Linked DNA regions of Homo sapiens: all the other regions are linked to region 3. The links are contacts of gene promoters, found by promoter capture Hi-C in blood cells and fetal thymus (Javierre and others, 2016). All regions are on one chromosome and are shown on one strand. Each heading gives the region's core, a stretch centred on a gene start or on the middle of the fragment in contact. The rest is flanking DNA. Distances are from core to core; before and after follow the strand shown.

What was found. The method cuts DNA at HindIII sites, captures the fragments that hold promoters and counts their contacts. A CHiCAGO score of 5 or more calls a contact.
Region 1: a fragment that was not itself captured here is called in contact with the fragment with the promoter of EDNRA in region 3 in 1 of 17 cell types (endothelial precursors); the score reaches 6.6 in endothelial precursors.
Region 2: a contact is called between a fragment that was not itself captured here and the fragment with the promoter of EDNRA in region 3, in 1 of 17 cell types (endothelial precursors). The highest score is 6.8, in endothelial precursors.
Region 4: a contact is called between a fragment that was not itself captured here and the fragment with the promoter of EDNRA in region 3, in 1 of 17 cell types (endothelial precursors). The highest score is 5.1, in endothelial precursors.
Region 5: a fragment that was not itself captured here is called in contact with the fragment with the promoter of EDNRA in region 3 in 1 of 17 cell types (endothelial precursors); the score reaches 6.6 in endothelial precursors.
Region 6: a fragment that was not itself captured here is called in contact with the fragment with the promoter of EDNRA in region 3 in 1 of 17 cell types (endothelial precursors); the score reaches 5.1 in endothelial precursors.

The regions. Positions count from the first base shown.
Region 1 is chr4:147,180,587-147,183,286 of GRCh38, reverse strand. No RefSeq gene overlaps it. Among named protein-coding and RNA genes, the nearest start is that of MIR548G, 160 kb to the left of the region's middle. The HindIII fragment of the contact is 2,249 bases long and covers 130-2,378 here.
Region 2 is chr4:147,147,485-147,150,184 of GRCh38, reverse strand. No RefSeq gene overlaps it. Among named protein-coding and RNA genes, the nearest start is that of MIR548G, 200 kb to the left of the region's middle. The HindIII fragment of the contact is 1,939 bases long and covers 402-2,340 here.
Region 3 is chr4:147,479,727-147,482,426 of GRCh38, reverse strand. EDNRA (endothelin receptor type A) reads right to left here and starts at 1,330. Exons shown (of 8, transcript NM_001957.4): 1 at 1,051-1,330. RefSeq lists enhancers at 431-510, 541-640. The HindIII fragment of the contact is 2,424 bases long and covers 1-1,767 here.
Region 4 is chr4:147,219,745-147,222,444 of GRCh38, reverse strand. No RefSeq gene overlaps it. Among named protein-coding and RNA genes, the nearest start is that of MIR548G, 120 kb to the left of the region's middle. The HindIII fragment of the contact is 1,770 bases long and covers 501-2,270 here.
Region 5 is chr4:147,198,521-147,201,220 of GRCh38, reverse strand. No RefSeq gene overlaps it. Among named protein-coding and RNA genes, the nearest start is that of MIR548G, 140 kb to the left of the region's middle. The HindIII fragment of the contact is 3,290 bases long and covers 1-2,700 here.
Region 6 is chr4:147,129,402-147,132,101 of GRCh38, reverse strand. No RefSeq gene overlaps it. Among named protein-coding and RNA genes, the nearest start is that of TTC29, 180 kb to the right of the region's middle. The HindIII fragment of the contact is 3,525 bases long and covers 1-2,700 here.

The sequences.
Region 1 (2,700 bases), core at 5-2,504, 300 kb after region 3:
CTTTGCTTCCCTTCTTGCAAAATAAGATAATCATGGGTGTGTGACAGTCACTGCCAGTTGCCTTGATAATACTTATTCCTCTCCTTCTCCCTATTTTGTTGGGGTGGCAATGTACCCAGCTAATAAGCTTGATTTCTCAGACTCCCTGGAAGCAAGTGGTGGTCAAGTGACACATTTCTGATGAATGAGGACTAAGCAAAGGGGAAAGTAATAGTCTTGAGGTCACAGGGATAATGGGGCTAGGCAGATTCTGAGGGGCCTTGAGGCTATTTTAGGGCTTTGGATTTTACTGAGTGAAAGGGAAGCCATAAAGCATCCTGAGAGATGACCACTCCAGATGCTATGTTGAGAGTAGACTGGAAGGGTGAGGAAGGGAGATCTGGTCAGAGAATGTTGCAGTAATCTATGTGAAAGACCATGATGGCTTAAACTAGGTTGGTGAGCTGTAGAGATGGCACAAATTGTCTGATTTTGGATAGGTGTTGGAAGGAGAGTCCACAGGATTTGAAAATAGAATAGTTGTGGAGAGTGTGATTACGATAATTAAGAAATAATCCAAGTTTTTGGCCTGAGTAACTGTCAGGAAGAGATTGCCCTCAACTGAGGGGAGGAAGGCTATAATAAAGTGTGTTTGATGGGAAAGGCTAGGAGTTCATTTTTGTTTATGGTGAATTTGATGTGTCTACTAGAAATCCAAGAGGAAATGTGAAGTAGGTAATTTTGTGTATAAATCTGGAGTTGAAGAGAGAAACCTGTGCTGAAGAAGCAAATTTAGGATTCTAACATGTGTTTAAAGCTGTGAGATTGGATGAGATCACCAGAGTTAGCATAAGTAAAGGAGAGGTGTGTGTGCCCTGTACCAATCCACCATTATGAAACACGGAGAAAAGAAAGGAGACTGAGAAGGAAGATCTAGTAAGGCAGGAGGAAAAGCAAAGGGGTGTTGTCTTGGAAGCTAAGAGAGGGGGTGCTCAACTGTGTCAAAGGCTGCTGATTAGTCACTCTAAAATTCAGACAAAGAATTTACCATTAGATCTAGCACCATGGAGGTCATAGGTCACCACAGGGAAAGCGCTTTGTGCCTGCTAGATGTGCCTTGGGGGAAATGAAAGGGGAAGAATTGGAAACAGAAAGTAAACAGGACTCTCAAGGAGTTTTAAGGCAAAGATTTAAGATAGTTGTTAGTAGGAAAGTGGAATAAGGGGCAAGAGAAAGTGGTGTGCATGTGTATATATATATGTGTGTGTTTAGAAAAATTACATAATAGTATCTTGATGAAAATAATCCCATCATCAAAATTTTGATGATGTTATAGAGAGGAAAAATGGCTAATCACTTTAAGTAGGATAGAGGAGACGTAATCTAAAACACATTTAGAAGAGCTTATACTTTTTTATGTATACCATCTGTAGTTAAGGCATGGGTGGTTATGGAAGAAACAAAAGGCAAAGTCTGTTACCTCAAAGTACATATAGTTTAGCTAGGGAAATGAGAACATTATGTACGCTGCTACCTCCTTAGAGCACGTCCCACCCCATCCTTTTTGTTTCATGCGTTGTGAAGATTCTTTGACTCACAGTGAGATGGACACACTATTATCTTTCTTTGTTATCTCTGGGCAGAGAATTTCAAAAGTGGTATGCATTTGTCAATTAAATTCACCATACCAGAGGACTACCATAATTTTACCTATATTTTATGATTGGTTTATAACAGCTTCATTGTGTTTCTTTAAACTTTCAACAAACTTTTTCCACTCCCTCTACAATTCCAGGCCGTTTGCTAGGTGCTGGGTTTGGAGAAATAGGAACTCTGTACTTAAGCAAGTAATGAGACCCTGAAATAAAGCAGTGGTGTTGACAGCAGGGTAGAGGGAAGGGGGCGTGTTAGAAAGAGATCCAGAAAGTAGAGTCAGTACAATTTGGTGATTGCCTAGAAATGAAAAATTGGTGAGACTGAGGAGTTTAACTTTATTTTGAGAATGTTCTAAATACAAATCTCAGTTTCTACAATAATTAGATTGATAATCATATATTATTACTCATTTTATTTGACTTCTTAAGCTAGTTTTGTTTGTGTTTTCCTATAAATTAATCAATTTTGTATACATTTCTCATCGTTTTACCATCAAGTTGTACGTAACATTCTGTTTACATTTTAAATATTTTGTAAATAAATTTGCATTCCTAAGATTTTACACTGGTGCTTTATCTCTTAGCTTTTTGAAAATTTTAGATGTTTCACTAACCTCTGTGTTTACCTTTTTGCTCTTTCATTTCTTGCTTTCCTTAAAATTTTCATTGATTTTTCCCTTTAGATTCTAGAATTAAATATTTACTTTCATTGTTTCCATTCTTTCTTATTTAATAATAAAAGCTTGTAAAAATACAACTTTTCCTCTGAATATAGTTTTGACCACATTCCACTTCAATTATCTGAGTAGCGTGTCATTCCTACTTGACCCAGAAGAGTGATTTTTCATATACTTTACTTTTAACATACATTGATGTTTTCACTTTTATTAATAGGTTAGAGTCTAACTTTATGGTATTCAGAGAATATATTGAATTTTTCATGGAATAATAGGTGATAAACTGAAGGCCTGCTATATAAAGTGATTCCAAAGTGATAGAGAAATAGTTTTCTGTTTTGTGTGAACCTTGAGTTCTGAAATAGGAAGTAGGCAGAGGGAGAAAGGAA
Region 2 (2,700 bases), core at 122-2,621, 330 kb after region 3:
TGTAAAAACACTAGTAAGTAGTTTAACACAACATGTATTGAAATGAGGCCGGAGAAAACTTGCATGCAAAGTGATGACACACAGGCACACACAGGTCGCATTTCCAAACAAACTTGACACAGTGAACCAAATGAAAAGAATGAATTCTTAAAGTTAACATTTTATAAATCAATTTTTTAACCTCATAAAAACTGAGAAAAATGTCTTTCTTATTCATAATTTACACCAAAACCCAATAAGGTGCATTAAAAGATTTTAGAGAAGTGAAAAACAGAAAAAGACATTCACTAAGCAGTAAGCTTTCCTTAAAACTATGGTGATTACTAAGTGACATGCTAGAATGTCACATGGCTTACTATTAATTATTAATCAATTGCTATAGACCCGCAATTTTTGAAGCTTTTCCAGACCTCGGTCTTCTTCAAAATGAAAAAAAAATATGAATGGCTCACTCCATCTGCTCATAGAAGACAGATATCAGATAAAATAAACATTTCTCCAGAATATCAGAAGAACTAGTTTTACATCTTATGAGATACCAATGAACTCAGTGAATTTTATTCACCTCAGATAAATTAATAATTCATACTAAAATATTAGTTATAAACATTAAGATTAGAAAATGACAAACTACAAGTCTGTAGACATCCTAGAAGCCCTTTATTTTCTGTTAAAAGTCTTTCAGAGCTCTTCTCTTTCCTTCCTGAAAAATTCGGTCCTAAATCGTGAAGTGGGGCAGAGCAAGGCAAGCATCCGAGGTATGTGTGTGTCGGAGATGGACTGCAGTGGTCCAGAGCCTAAGCAGGTTGAAGATGGTCCACAGCAGGGTGTCCAGTGTCAGAATCCATGCAGGCTGGGAAAGGCATCCCTGCAGGGGTGGACTGGTGAGGAGATTGAGCCTGATCAGAGTTAGGAAGACGTCCATGCAGAGGGGCAGAGGGAAGTTGGCATAGAGTATCAACCCTGAGCAGGGTGAGGAGTGAGTCCACGTGGAGGGGAAGCTGGAGAAGGACAGGAAAAGAAACTCCAAGGAAGGTGGCCTGGGGTGGGATGTCAGAGCTCGAGCAGGGAGAGAAGAATGTCCTTGTTGGGGGTGGCCTGGTGGGAGATAACCCAAGCAGGGTCAGGTGCAATGCCTCACAGAGATGTGATGTGAGCTGTCAGAGTCTGAGCAGGAGAGGAACTGTCTACGTGGAAGCAAGGGCAGCTCAGATTGTGGAATCATAGCTGTGCAGAGAAGAGGAGGCAGCCTCGCAGGGGAGGACTGATGGCAGATTACATACAGTGGGATGGATCAATTAAGTAAATACATAAAAAATAATTGAGGGGCTGAGCACGGTGGCTCATGCCTGTAATCCCAGCATGTTGGGAGGCTGAGGCGGGCGGATCACGAGGTCAGGACTTCGGGACCAGCCTGGCCAACATGGTGAAACCCCGTCTCTACTAAAAATACAGAACAAATTAGCTGGGTGTGGTGGTGATTTCCTGTAATCCCAACTACTCTGGAGGCTGAGGCAGGAGAATTGCTTGAACCCGGGAGGCGGAGGTTGCAATGAGTTGAGGTCGTGCCACTGCACTGCAGCCTGGGTGACAAAGTGAGACTCCATCTCAAAAACTAATAAATAAATAAAAATAATTGAGACAGATTTCTCACTTTTGGAGAAGGGAGTTAAAAATACAGAAAGGGAGAAAACTAGAATAAACCCAGTTGTTGGATTGGATATGTAATGTCCATGTGAACTCATGGACTCTGATAGATAATAGATATGACGATGGATAAATAGGTAGATACACAGAAAGAAAGATAGATAATTAAAGATATAAATGTATGGATATGGAAGTTATCTGTATGTGTATTACATACATATATTTCCTAGCTTTCTCCACTGAGAGAGGTGGGAGCAGTGACACTCCAGTAGCAATGAACACACCTAACACTCACATCTTGGCTTTTAAATACCATTTTCCATGCAAAAGAGCCAGGGCTCCTTGAGAAAATAGCTAATTTCAAGGATGGGACAGGAAAAATACGAAACAGGACATCTTGTGCCAGAAAGTAAGGATGTGCTAAAAGGATATTGCGAACATGTCAAAAGGAAGTAGAAATGAGTTTAAATCGGCTTCTTGTAGCCAAACTTGGGACAATTTGAGCATAAAATTAATGATAGTAATGGGTTATAACCCACTAAATGAAATAGGAAATTCATTTAGGTATAAATAAATTTATGAATAAATAGAAAATTTGGAGAGAAGCAGGATATTTATATAGTTTCAAAATATTTCCCCCAAAATAATTGTTAATTCCTAAGGAGAAAGGAAGAATTTTGCAATGGAGAAGCTTTGCAGATATCACTTCCATCAAGAAATCAAAGTAAACATCATCAGTAATGGGACTAATAAAAATGACTTGTAATCTGGTAGAATTCAGTGAGAACATGTTGTCACCTCTGAAATATTCTTGCCAAAAAGGCATAGTCTGAATCTAATCAAAAATAAATACTGAACAAAGCCAAACGGAGGGACATGCTACAAAGTAACTTGTCTGCAGAGTTTCCAGTGTCAAGGTCAGGAAAGTCAAGGAAAGACTGCAAATCTGTTCTAGGTTGAAGGGACTAGACAATTAAGGGACATGACAACCAAATGCATGATTCTGGACTGGATCTTTTTGCTCTAAAGTGTATAATTGGGGAAATGTACAAA
Region 3 (2,700 bases), core at 81-2,580:
ACATGGTCTATAGATTCAGCATTCTTCCTGTTTGGAATCTGAGAGTTTGGGGAGTGCAAAAACTATTATTAAGAAAGAGGACTGAATCCTTACGCTTACACTTTAACCATTTAACATATGAGACTCTCAGGATCAAAGTTCACCTGTAATTGGTAATTTGGAAATTCAGACCTTATCAAAATGGCATGAGTTTAGAGCATTCAATTTACATGAAATGACTGCCAAGGTGTTTCTCAATTAGCTAACACATAGACAACTACAGGTGGAGGAAAAAACAAGTAAAAGTAGGAACTTTTTACAAGTTTTCTGAGGTTTTGCTCTCTGGTTAAGAAATGAGCAACTCTCCTTAGAGACAACGCCTGAGTTTAATATGCCTCCCACCCCCAACTCTATCAGGGGAAAGCCATTAGGATGATGTAAACAGAGGGTGATTATCTAGAAGCAGCCCTTGTTTTCTGCACGTGAGAAGCAACAAGTGTCCTTTAAAGGCGAGCACAGAACAAAACGCCCAGACCTCCACAGGCAGGTTTCCAAAACTAGCTACACAGGGGGTTTCCCCAAACACCTCAGTCCCTCACACCGAGTGCCCTTGGCTACCCTTGGCATACCCAGACCCAGATGTGGGGGAGGAAAAGCAAGCCAGTAAGAAAAGGCTGTGGAGCCAACTTCACAAGAAGGCGCTGGAGCAAGCCACAGAGCTTGGCGTTCCTCAAAGTTCTTGCATGCCTGGGGAAAAGGGGTCACCCAGGGAAAACTATTGGGCTTCCTCTTCCTAAAACTCCGAATCCTAAACCCTAACGTGGAGAGGTGAAGTTCCCCGAACTCTACACGTGTCCGCAGCGCACCCCTCACGGAAGGCGCCCGCCTCCCCGCGCGCCCTGGGGCAAGTGGGTGCCAGCCCCTGCTGCGACGGGTCGCCCAAGCTGCAGGGCGGTCGGGCCAGAACGTTCCCAGCTCTCGTCTTCTCCCGACCGAGGGGCCCAGGCAGCGTCTCCGCCATCCCCGCACCCGCCCCAGTCCCAGTCCCCGATAAGAAAGACTTGCACCGACCGTGGAGCTCGGCGTGCGCAGACAGCTGCCGGGTCCGCGCGGCGCCTGGGCCAGAGGAAGCCGGAGCCGGCGAGGGTGGGTGGCGCGGAGGGTGGCCGGTGTCCCGGGCTCCGGCGCGGCGGCGGCTTCGGCTGCACAGCTTCCCCGGCTTCAGAAAACCTCCTGGGCACTGCTTCTCCCGGGGAGGTCTCGCTGGGACCCCAATCCCCGGCGACGACCGGGTGGGATGGATGAAGCCTCTCCACCGCCTCTCCACAATCGTCAGACCAGCGGGATGACTGTACGCGCGCGCGAGGGCTCGCACGAAAAAGAAAACTCCGGAGGAACACGCCTCCAGTCTGTCCTCCCCGTCTCCTCCCAAAGCTCCAGACCTTCCACTCCACTCTGGGACCGCAAGAGCGTCCTAACCTTCCAGCTATCCTGGGACGCGGCCACTAAAAAGCACAAAGCTGCCGCCCCCTTCCAGGCCCTGAAGGGCAGGAGTCTTTTTTAACTATTTCCTTCCTGAAAGAAAAGGTGGGGGATGTGGAGGAGAGAGGGTAGAGTTTGACAGACAAGACTCAGAATTCCGAAAGGCCTTGCAGAGGAACCCATCCTCTTAGTGCAGGCAGATTTGATCTGTGACGGAACAACTGGACACAGAGCCAGGGCCCACGGGTGGTTTCTTCTCCGTCTTCCCTGCCGCCTTTGCTTGGCTTGCGTGCTCCCTCTTAAGCTTAGAGGCCGTTGAGGAGCCGAAGTGGACAGCAGTTTACTGGATCAGGTGGTTTGCTTCTATCTTGTCCCTTGTAGCCAGCATCCCACGGCTACAGACCTCCAGCCCAGGGCAAAGAAGGAGCCTCAGGAGAGACTATGGAAGGTTCCAGCGCGTGGCTCCGTGAAACCTCAAGAAATTCAAACAATGAAGAAGCCGACCTTACAGAAAGTGGGTCTCAACGTCTTTATCACGGCAGATACTTTATCCTAAATTGGGGGTGGGAGAGGAGATGAGGGACAAAGGCCACTGCCTGTGACATGTGAGTAAAAACTGGGGTCTCCTCAGGGAAGGCCTGCCTTGGAGTCCTTCAGTGCACTGCTAGAGTCAGCACATGGTAGAAGTGTGAGGTTGGAGCACTGGTCATGTTATATCCCATGCTGTTCCGGCTATCTGCTGCAGCTAAACAAATTACTATAAAACGTAGTGGCTTAAAATAACAACACTCATTTACTCTGCTTATCAGTCTGCAGTTTGGGCAGAGCCTGTCTGGGACAGCTCGTTTTTGCTCCATGTAGCAGGGGCTGGAGGATCCACTTCCAAGACAGTTCACTTGCTTGGTGTTGAGTGTTAGTTTTTCTCCACGTGCGTCTCTCCACAAAGACTTGTGGAGACTTGTGGTTTGGGCTTCCTCACAGCATGGTGGCGGGGATCCAAGAGTGAATGTCCCCAGAGACAGAAAGTGGAAGCTGCCAGTTTCTTAAGGGCTGGGCCCAGAAACTGGCACCGTGTCATTTCTGCTTGATTCTATTAGTCAAGCAGTCACAAATCCCAGATTGAAGGTGAGGGTATATAGAGCCCAACCCTTAGTGTGAGGAGTGTCAAAGAATTTAGGGACCATTTTGTAAAACCATCAAAGAGATCTACAGAAAACCACCATTGAAAGAGGCCTTAAT
Region 4 (2,700 bases), core at 136-2,635, 260 kb after region 3:
ATTACATGAAACTATCTGAGAGAATACTAGAGAAACATACAGAGATCAAGGTACTGGAGTAACTGATCTAGAAGATGTCCACACATTTTTTTGCTGCAGTAGTCCTGGATCACACTACTCAATCTGGAAAGGATCCAGAAATACATGAAGAAGTTAAAAAGATAAGCATTTTATTTAAGTAAAGATTTACTTAAGAAATAATAAATAGAATACTTAAAAGTTTAATTAAATTAATAGAATATTGTGCTTCTAATAAAAATTACACATGTGAAAAGGCAATTTTATTTAATGTTATATAGGAAAAAGAGGGTACAATATTTGATGTATGTGATAATTGCAATATGAAAAACATATAAAGTAATGTTTATTTAAAGAGAATATACAAGAACAGTGAAGGGAATATACAAAAATAGGATAATGCTTATATTAGGTGACATGCTTATGGGATATTATTTTTATGTTAATTTTAAAATAAAACAAGAACTTATTTATGTAAAGCTTTTTCTTTTAAGAGAAACTATTATATGTACATCTTTTGAGAACTGGAAAGACAAAAAGAAGAAATTGGTATTTTATTGTGAATATGATAAACTCTTTAGATGAAGTTCTCAAGGGTTGGATTTATTTGAAAGTGAATTATAACTAAATAAAAAACTAAATATAGTCCCATAACTTTAAAATTAAAAGCAGAAATTTTAAAAATGAACTTCAAGATATATGAAAGTTAACCACCTTACCATCACACCAACTAGATGTATTTATTTGTGTCACAGTATAAACAGAAATTACAGACATTGGAGATGCAAAATATTCCTCATCTAATATTTCTTTGGGAATTTTTCATCTCTGCCCCCTTCTGTGTTTCTGGGAATATAAAGACTATTTTGACATTGTTTACTGTGTTGGTCTTCTACTCCTTAATTATTAAAACAGAAAATGGTAGAAAAAGGTGTTAGAAGATCATGTTTCTTTGGGAATGTCCACCAGCTCTTAAGGAAAGTATATTTTCTAAGTCAAAATGTCACAAATATTCAAACAAGAGAAAATCTGGAGGCTGGTTATGGAAGGGAATGTTTTATCATTCGGACCAGATTTTTTTGTTCTCACTTTTCACATAGAATATCATGAAAAGTCCTTCTTCTCTGTTCGAACTACTTTTTCTTTGATGTCTTTGATAATTTTCCAATCAAACAACTAAGAGAAAAGTTTTTTTCTTTTTGTGAAGAAACTAAGGATCCTTTCCCCTAATCCAGTTAAAAGTACAAGAAGACTAAATAATTAGACAGCAGATCTCAGAATCTGCCTAAATCAGCCTTACCAAGAATCATAAAAACCTTGCACTTCCTTCTAGTTCTTCTTTCTTTATATTGGCCTATTTCCTAACAGACTATAACCTCTGGTATGACTCATAAGGTAGTTAATGTTGGAAGTTTCCTTTAATTGGAAGTGTTGATTTTAGGCCGAAAGACCCTTGAAATGCATTTAAAATTAGCATATTGGATTCATTCCTTTTAAAAAATTGACATTTGAATATATCCACTCTATGGAGAATGTTTCTTAGTTTTTCCATTCCTGTCTCCTGACTTAATGGGGAAGTACATTCATAAATATTTAGAGATAGATGCATTATAGCACACAAACTTTTAAAAATGTTAACCTATAAATAAATGCATTCAAACTTGTAAAAGCATGCATACTTCATGGAATACTATGTCAAGCCTATTTTCAATAATTCAAATATTTCAAGGCAGCCATCTAACAAAACTCAGGTCAAAACTTTTTATTTGAAAATGGAAAATATGTTGGTGTGTTTCAATGCTAGTTTCTTCCATTAAATTAAACAGTGTCCAGAAACCAATCATACAATGGGTCTTATGAAATAATGTAATATACCCTTTTTTACTTTTTAGTATCAGTATTTATTTTCTTTACTGGAATCTGTTTTAAGGGTGATTGATTGGATTACGTTTACTGCCAGCTAAAACTTGCATTTTCTCTGTCTATTAGTAGAGAACAAATAGAAAGAGGCAGTGGCAATACTAATATGAACTGAGTCAATATTAGTCTTTTGATCAATTAGAGTACATTTATGTATATAATTTTTGTAAACTACTTACAAGCTAAACTAGTAGGAAAAAATGAATAGATTTTATTTCAATGGAAGCAAACTACCACACCTATCCTTCAAGTATTCCTTGGACTGCCGTCAAAGCATGTGAAGTTTGGTTGAAAGAAAGAGAAAAATAATTGGTTGACTCTGAATTGAAGCTTAAGTAGGGTTGAGGAAATGGAATGGTTGCTACTGAGAACAGAGTTTCAGTGGATCGACTACTGTCCTAAATTCTGTAATAAATACAGTCTACACAGTCATAGATTTAAGCATGTTTATTCTATTGGATGAAAAAGATCAGGGCCCTCTTTCCAAACTCCTCTGCATTTAAAACCTTCTTCTGGTTTGATCCTATTCCGGAGTAAGGAAGTCTTTAATCTGTTTTGGGTTTTAGGAAAGAACCCATTAATCCAAAATAGTTTATCATACTTGCAGTGTGTAAAAATTTATTTGACATTAAGCAAGTTTAATTTCTAAGGTCTCTGGCTTAGAGCAAACTCTTCATGTGGGGTACAGTTTAACGTAATACCACCTAAGAGATGAAGTTACCTCTTTATGCACAAATTATGAAATTCATACATAATAGAAAC
Region 5 (2,700 bases), core at 151-2,650, 280 kb after region 3:
AACCATTTTGATATTTTTGTTTATAATCTTTCTAAGATGGTATGCAGCCTGTTCTGTCTAACTGAGGTCAGAGTATCTGAACTACCAGAGAAAGCATCTCAGAAAGTGGTTGTATATGTATCCCAGCTTGCAAGTTCTTTGTGGAAATCATCCAATCTTGGGCTAATTCTTGCTGTCTCTACCACACTGTCATAGTCAACTACTTTTTACATTTTTAAAGAGGATTAGACTAAGAAAATTCACAGAATATTTACTCACTTTAAATACCTTCTGTTTTTTCCCTACATCACGGACGACAATGAAAAAAAATGAAACAAGAAAAAGAAGAAAAGAATTGTAAAGATTTAATACATTTCTTTTAAATGTTAGGTTCACCCTGACTTCTTTCAGGTTGAGGGTAAATAAGTTTGTATCTGATTTGCGAATGCGTAGTATAGCTCAATTTTGCATTCTGAGGTTCTTGTATTGGTTGGTATTTAAAACATGAATGCAATAGCGAAGATTATTGGAGCACCTATCCTGTGTCCCTTTCTCTTTATGAGACTAAATAATATTGACTCATAATCCCTATTTCATCACATAAAGGCTCATGATACCACGGAGGACCTTAGAATCTTACTTATTTTCCCAAGGAAATGCTTGAACCATCCGTATCCATTAAGGGAGTGTTTCTCTGGCGGATGCTGTTCTGGGTTCTTGGGTGTAGGTCGATATTGATCCATGAAGCCCAGGCTGGCAGAGCATGACTTAGAGTGCCTGGAGCCCCCTCCTCCCCATCACTACTTTCACTTTCCTCTCCTTCCCCAGCTAGTTACTTCTAGACACACTGACTTGTCTGATTACTGCTGAGTATAAATACATACTATCATTTTCTCTGAGAGCCATTACTTGGGAAACACTGCTTTAAGTGTTAATATGATCATATCTAACTTTTTCTAGTCAGATACATATGAAATCCTGTGGACTGTTGGTATATCCCAAATCTGAGAGAGACACCAGAACCAGCTGAGAGGATAAAGGCAGACTGTCAGGTGTCCCAGCTATCTGCTAACACAAATACTACCCTTCATTCACACATGATTGGTGCAGTGGAGTCCTGAATAAGGTGGCTGTGGAAATTGTAGAAACCCTTAACAATTCCCTTAATAAAACATTTTGGGGGACTTCTTTTTTAACATTGAGATGGGGGGCAACAAAGGATAAAGGTGTGTGTGGCTGGAGGCGAGCAAATGACATCCATTATCAACTACATTTTCTCCGAGCCTCCCATTAAATGAAACATTCTTAAATGCAATTTTTTCTCTCCCATACTCATGTTACCTTAAGTCAAGGCTTAATTCAGTGCCACTATGTAATGATCCTCTGATGGGCCACAAAAAGTACACTTAACATTTTCCCTAAAGATGTTCTACGATCCCTTGTTCTCAGAGGGCCAGATTTAATTGTTTGCTTTGGTAATAAGAAGCCATTAAGTCCACCAGTGCTTCTTGTCTTCAGAAGTTGTAGCTAAATATGCAGGTGTGGCTGAAGGGCTGCTCAGGACTGTATCCTGTGCTCTCACATCTGTTGGTTTTCATTATGGTCTCATGTAAGGAGACCTGTAGATGTGGCCCTTCCAGTTAAACAATTCAGCCCTCATTTCATGTAAATCCTTCTTCGATAAGTAATTTGGCCCTTCTCTCTTCATGGCTTATTGTTTGTCTTATTAAAAACTGTTGGTCAGGGTAGTTATGATCTTCTGGCACAGTTCATTAAGTGAAATTAGTAATTAGAAGAAAGCTAAGAAATGAATAAATTCAGAAGTGTTCCACATTTGTACATTCTTATATGATTGTGGCCAGCAGGGAGTCAGGTCTGACTACAAACACTTTTGGTGCATAAATCCTTGTGTTTTTGTGCTCTGGAGAAATAATTGTTACATGCCTAAGAAATTAATACATATTTCATGTTCTAAGTTATGGACCCACTGAAGTACCAACAAACTACAAATAAAACCAGACTAGCCCATACTCACAGATTGTTGCTATTACAGCCGCATTTGTCAGACCATCCTGCAAATATTGACCATCTCAGAATCTTCAGTCACAAAAACCAAGAGGCAGGCTTACTGTGAGAAGATATTATAGATGTATCATCTGCTCCTTCCCAGTTTTTCAGGGTTAATAGCCTACTGGGCTAAAGCATAACATGGTTCACTTCTTTATAACGGTTCTCTAATTAAATTGAGGAGGTTGATGTCCCTTCTTCAGAATGCACACATTTTACCATTAAACAAGCAGTCCACTCTATTAAGTCTGGAAAGGATCAAGCTATGCTTCAGGGACAATTGTCTAAGATGATGTTCCCTGCTAAGGAGTGTGAAGTAGCACAGCCTGGTGATGCTCCTACTGAGCCTCGACATGAAGAGACTGGCTTCTGCAGAAATATATTTGAAACCATGTCTTCTGGCATAAGAATGATGTGCTTATTTCCTTACAAGATGGCTATTTTTCATTGAGACTTAGTTTTTGGCCTTTGTTTCCTGTGTGTACGTTTCTGATATGGCGTGATTAGGCTGTTTGTTTAAATTAATCTGTGCTTAAAGGAATGTGATAGAGAATGTGAGAGCATTTCTGGAATTCTTTGGAATGCTCTGGCTATTTGCAAGAACATTCCTGCCTTCAGCTTGATTGTTTTTGGCTGACAGGTGCTGACTTTCCC
Region 6 (2,700 bases), core at 56-2,555, 350 kb after region 3:
ACAAATGACTCTTCTGATGGAGTATTTCTACTGGCACCTATTATGCCCTCATGCTTCATGGGCAAAGTTGTTACCATGATATGATTACCTTTCAAGTCATGCTGATAGTTTTTGGATTAAATGTACCCGTGGGATAAATGGTGATGTTTAGAACATGGGTGACCCATGCACGTTAGGTGTATTTTGCATAGGCCACAAATTGGTGAACGAAGAACCAAATGTGTGATGTAGATTTGCTTTGTGAGGGGTGTCTGGCATTTTAAAATTTTTGAATGAATTTTTAAGGGATTTCACCTAAAAATTCAGATTTCCTATTTCTCTTCAAAAATCAGAAGACTGGGCAATACTGCCTCCAAAGTCTTAAGGATGACTGACATGATAATGTTTGATCTGAGCTGTGCGGTATCTGGTTCCGTTAGATGAGACATGCATTCCTCAGTTTTCTCTAGTTCCCTATTGTGAAGCCACCACAGGGGCCTGGTGCTTTTTTATAGTATTCAATATTCCTTTGAAGCCATGCTTCTGCTAAAAGTGAAATAAATATTTGGTGTAGAGGGTACATGTTTCTTACATAGAGTCGGGCTAAATACCTGATTTAATTGGCCTTGTGAGCATTTGAGTTTACCGCTCCTGTACAATGTGTAAATGGATAACACGGTGTGGCACTAATTCTGTCATAAACATTTTTCTCATATTTTAGCATCTCTAAAATTGGGAGGCATCTTAGATTTGCTGTCACTGGGCCGCAGCCATGGGGAGTTAAATGGTTGCTGCCTGCAAACTTGGTCATAACTGTTTATGTTGTTATATCAATTGATTTTATGTCTAGTGTTGGAAAGGTGCAACACCAACAAAGGCATTGGTTTTAAGTTACTATTTAAAACATCTTCAATAAGATTATGCCATTACTCAGTATTGACACAAAAAGTGACTTTAATATGCAGAAAGACAGGGAAACAGCAACTTGCCATGACTTTGATATTAGTGAAGCAAAAGTTCCTTGTAGGAGTAATGACTGCATTTCCTTCTTTTCTTGGAAAGAGGATCCAGGTGCTTTAGGAGACCTAAGAAGGGGAAATCTTACAGGTCTATGAGGCTTTGTTACATTTTGTTACTGAGATAAGTGCAAAAGAATTCTTATTACAGGCCAAGCAGTGCAACCAAAGGCAAGAGAAAATGCCAAATAGTTTGTAATAGATAAAAAGAAATGTCCGGACAAAGGCTGTGTGGCCCACCCAGGCTTCACAGAGGACTATCATTAAGGTGTTGCATCTGGGATTGATTGGAAATGTATCCTCTTTTCTGTATTGGTACCATTAAAAAGAACCTGAGCCAGACAGTATTTAAAGCAATTGGAACACGTTTTATTCAGGAGCGATTGCAATATGGGAAAAGAAACCTCAGTATAGGACTGAGCTCAATTCTGAATACAGCAAGGACAAGTGGGGAGGTATAGCTAAGGAACAGGGTAGCGGGGGCGGGAGGGGGGTTCAGTGGATGAAAAATGACTAAGAGGACACATCAAGAGTAGGGGAAGTTTTGATAAACTAACTTAATAGGATTCTTGCTACAACTGGGCTATGCAGGTCCAGCAAAGATGGAAGGAAGGCTGAGACCTTAGGAAGAGGGCTCAGAGGAACCTGACTGAAGTTTGGTCAAGAAGAGTTTTGGTCAGTGCATAAAATAATGGTGCATTTCACCATCCATGATGTCTTAGATTCAATAAATATGATGAAACAAAGCCAGAAAATGGGAAGGCCTTGCTGCCTCTACTAACTATCAACATGGTCGCTTCTGCTACTGTCTATCTGCCTTTTTCAGAATCGCCTCCTCTCTCTTTCTGACTACTGAGTGAAGAAGAAATGGAGGCAAAATGCTTAAATGGCATGACTCTTAGGAAACAGCAAATGCTGCTGCGGTAGAAAATAGAACCAGACACAACAAACCAAGCTGCCTCTAAAATTCTAAAGGCAGACCAACCTAGACCCACACATCTGAGAATTGTCTTCCCAAGTCTTTCCAAGTTTAAAAAAGGACGTTTAATGAAAACCCCAACAGATTCATAGGAAGCCACAGCTGAAGGGCTAGGTGAACTTGGCCTGTTGTCTTACAGGCACCAAAACCTGCTGTTCAGGACAGTGACAAATCCATCCCCTGTCATGTGTTATTACTTATAGTACATGTCATGGGACAAATGTTTGTTATTAACAGAAGTTCCATGGACAAATTTTATCATCCGCTTTCTGGTCCTCTCCAATTTAACAATTTTATATTTTGCCTGCAGGCTAGGAGAGCTGAGTTTATGCCAAAGACATTTCTATTTTAGCTGTCATGCCCCAAAATGAACACTTTGTTTTAAAAAGAACTGGAAAAATAACAGGCAAGAAGAAAAAAGTAATTCCTTTTTTGACATTTTGAAAATAATTTAAAGTTAATTCTAACCAACCAATAGCTGTTTGGTTCAGTTATCTTTCCAGAAAGTGAGATACTGGGTTTAGTATTAGAAACAAATCATCTTTACTTAGCAAAAGGCCCTATTCATAACACACATGTTTAGGGAGTTGTTTAACTTTATTGCTATGCTGAAAGACACCGTGAAATGTCCTAGGGAGGTGTGCATTCATTTGAGTATTTTCTGTTTCTCACATTTATAAGCCATGCTATCAACCAAATAAACTGCTAGCACGGGAATGACCCCCT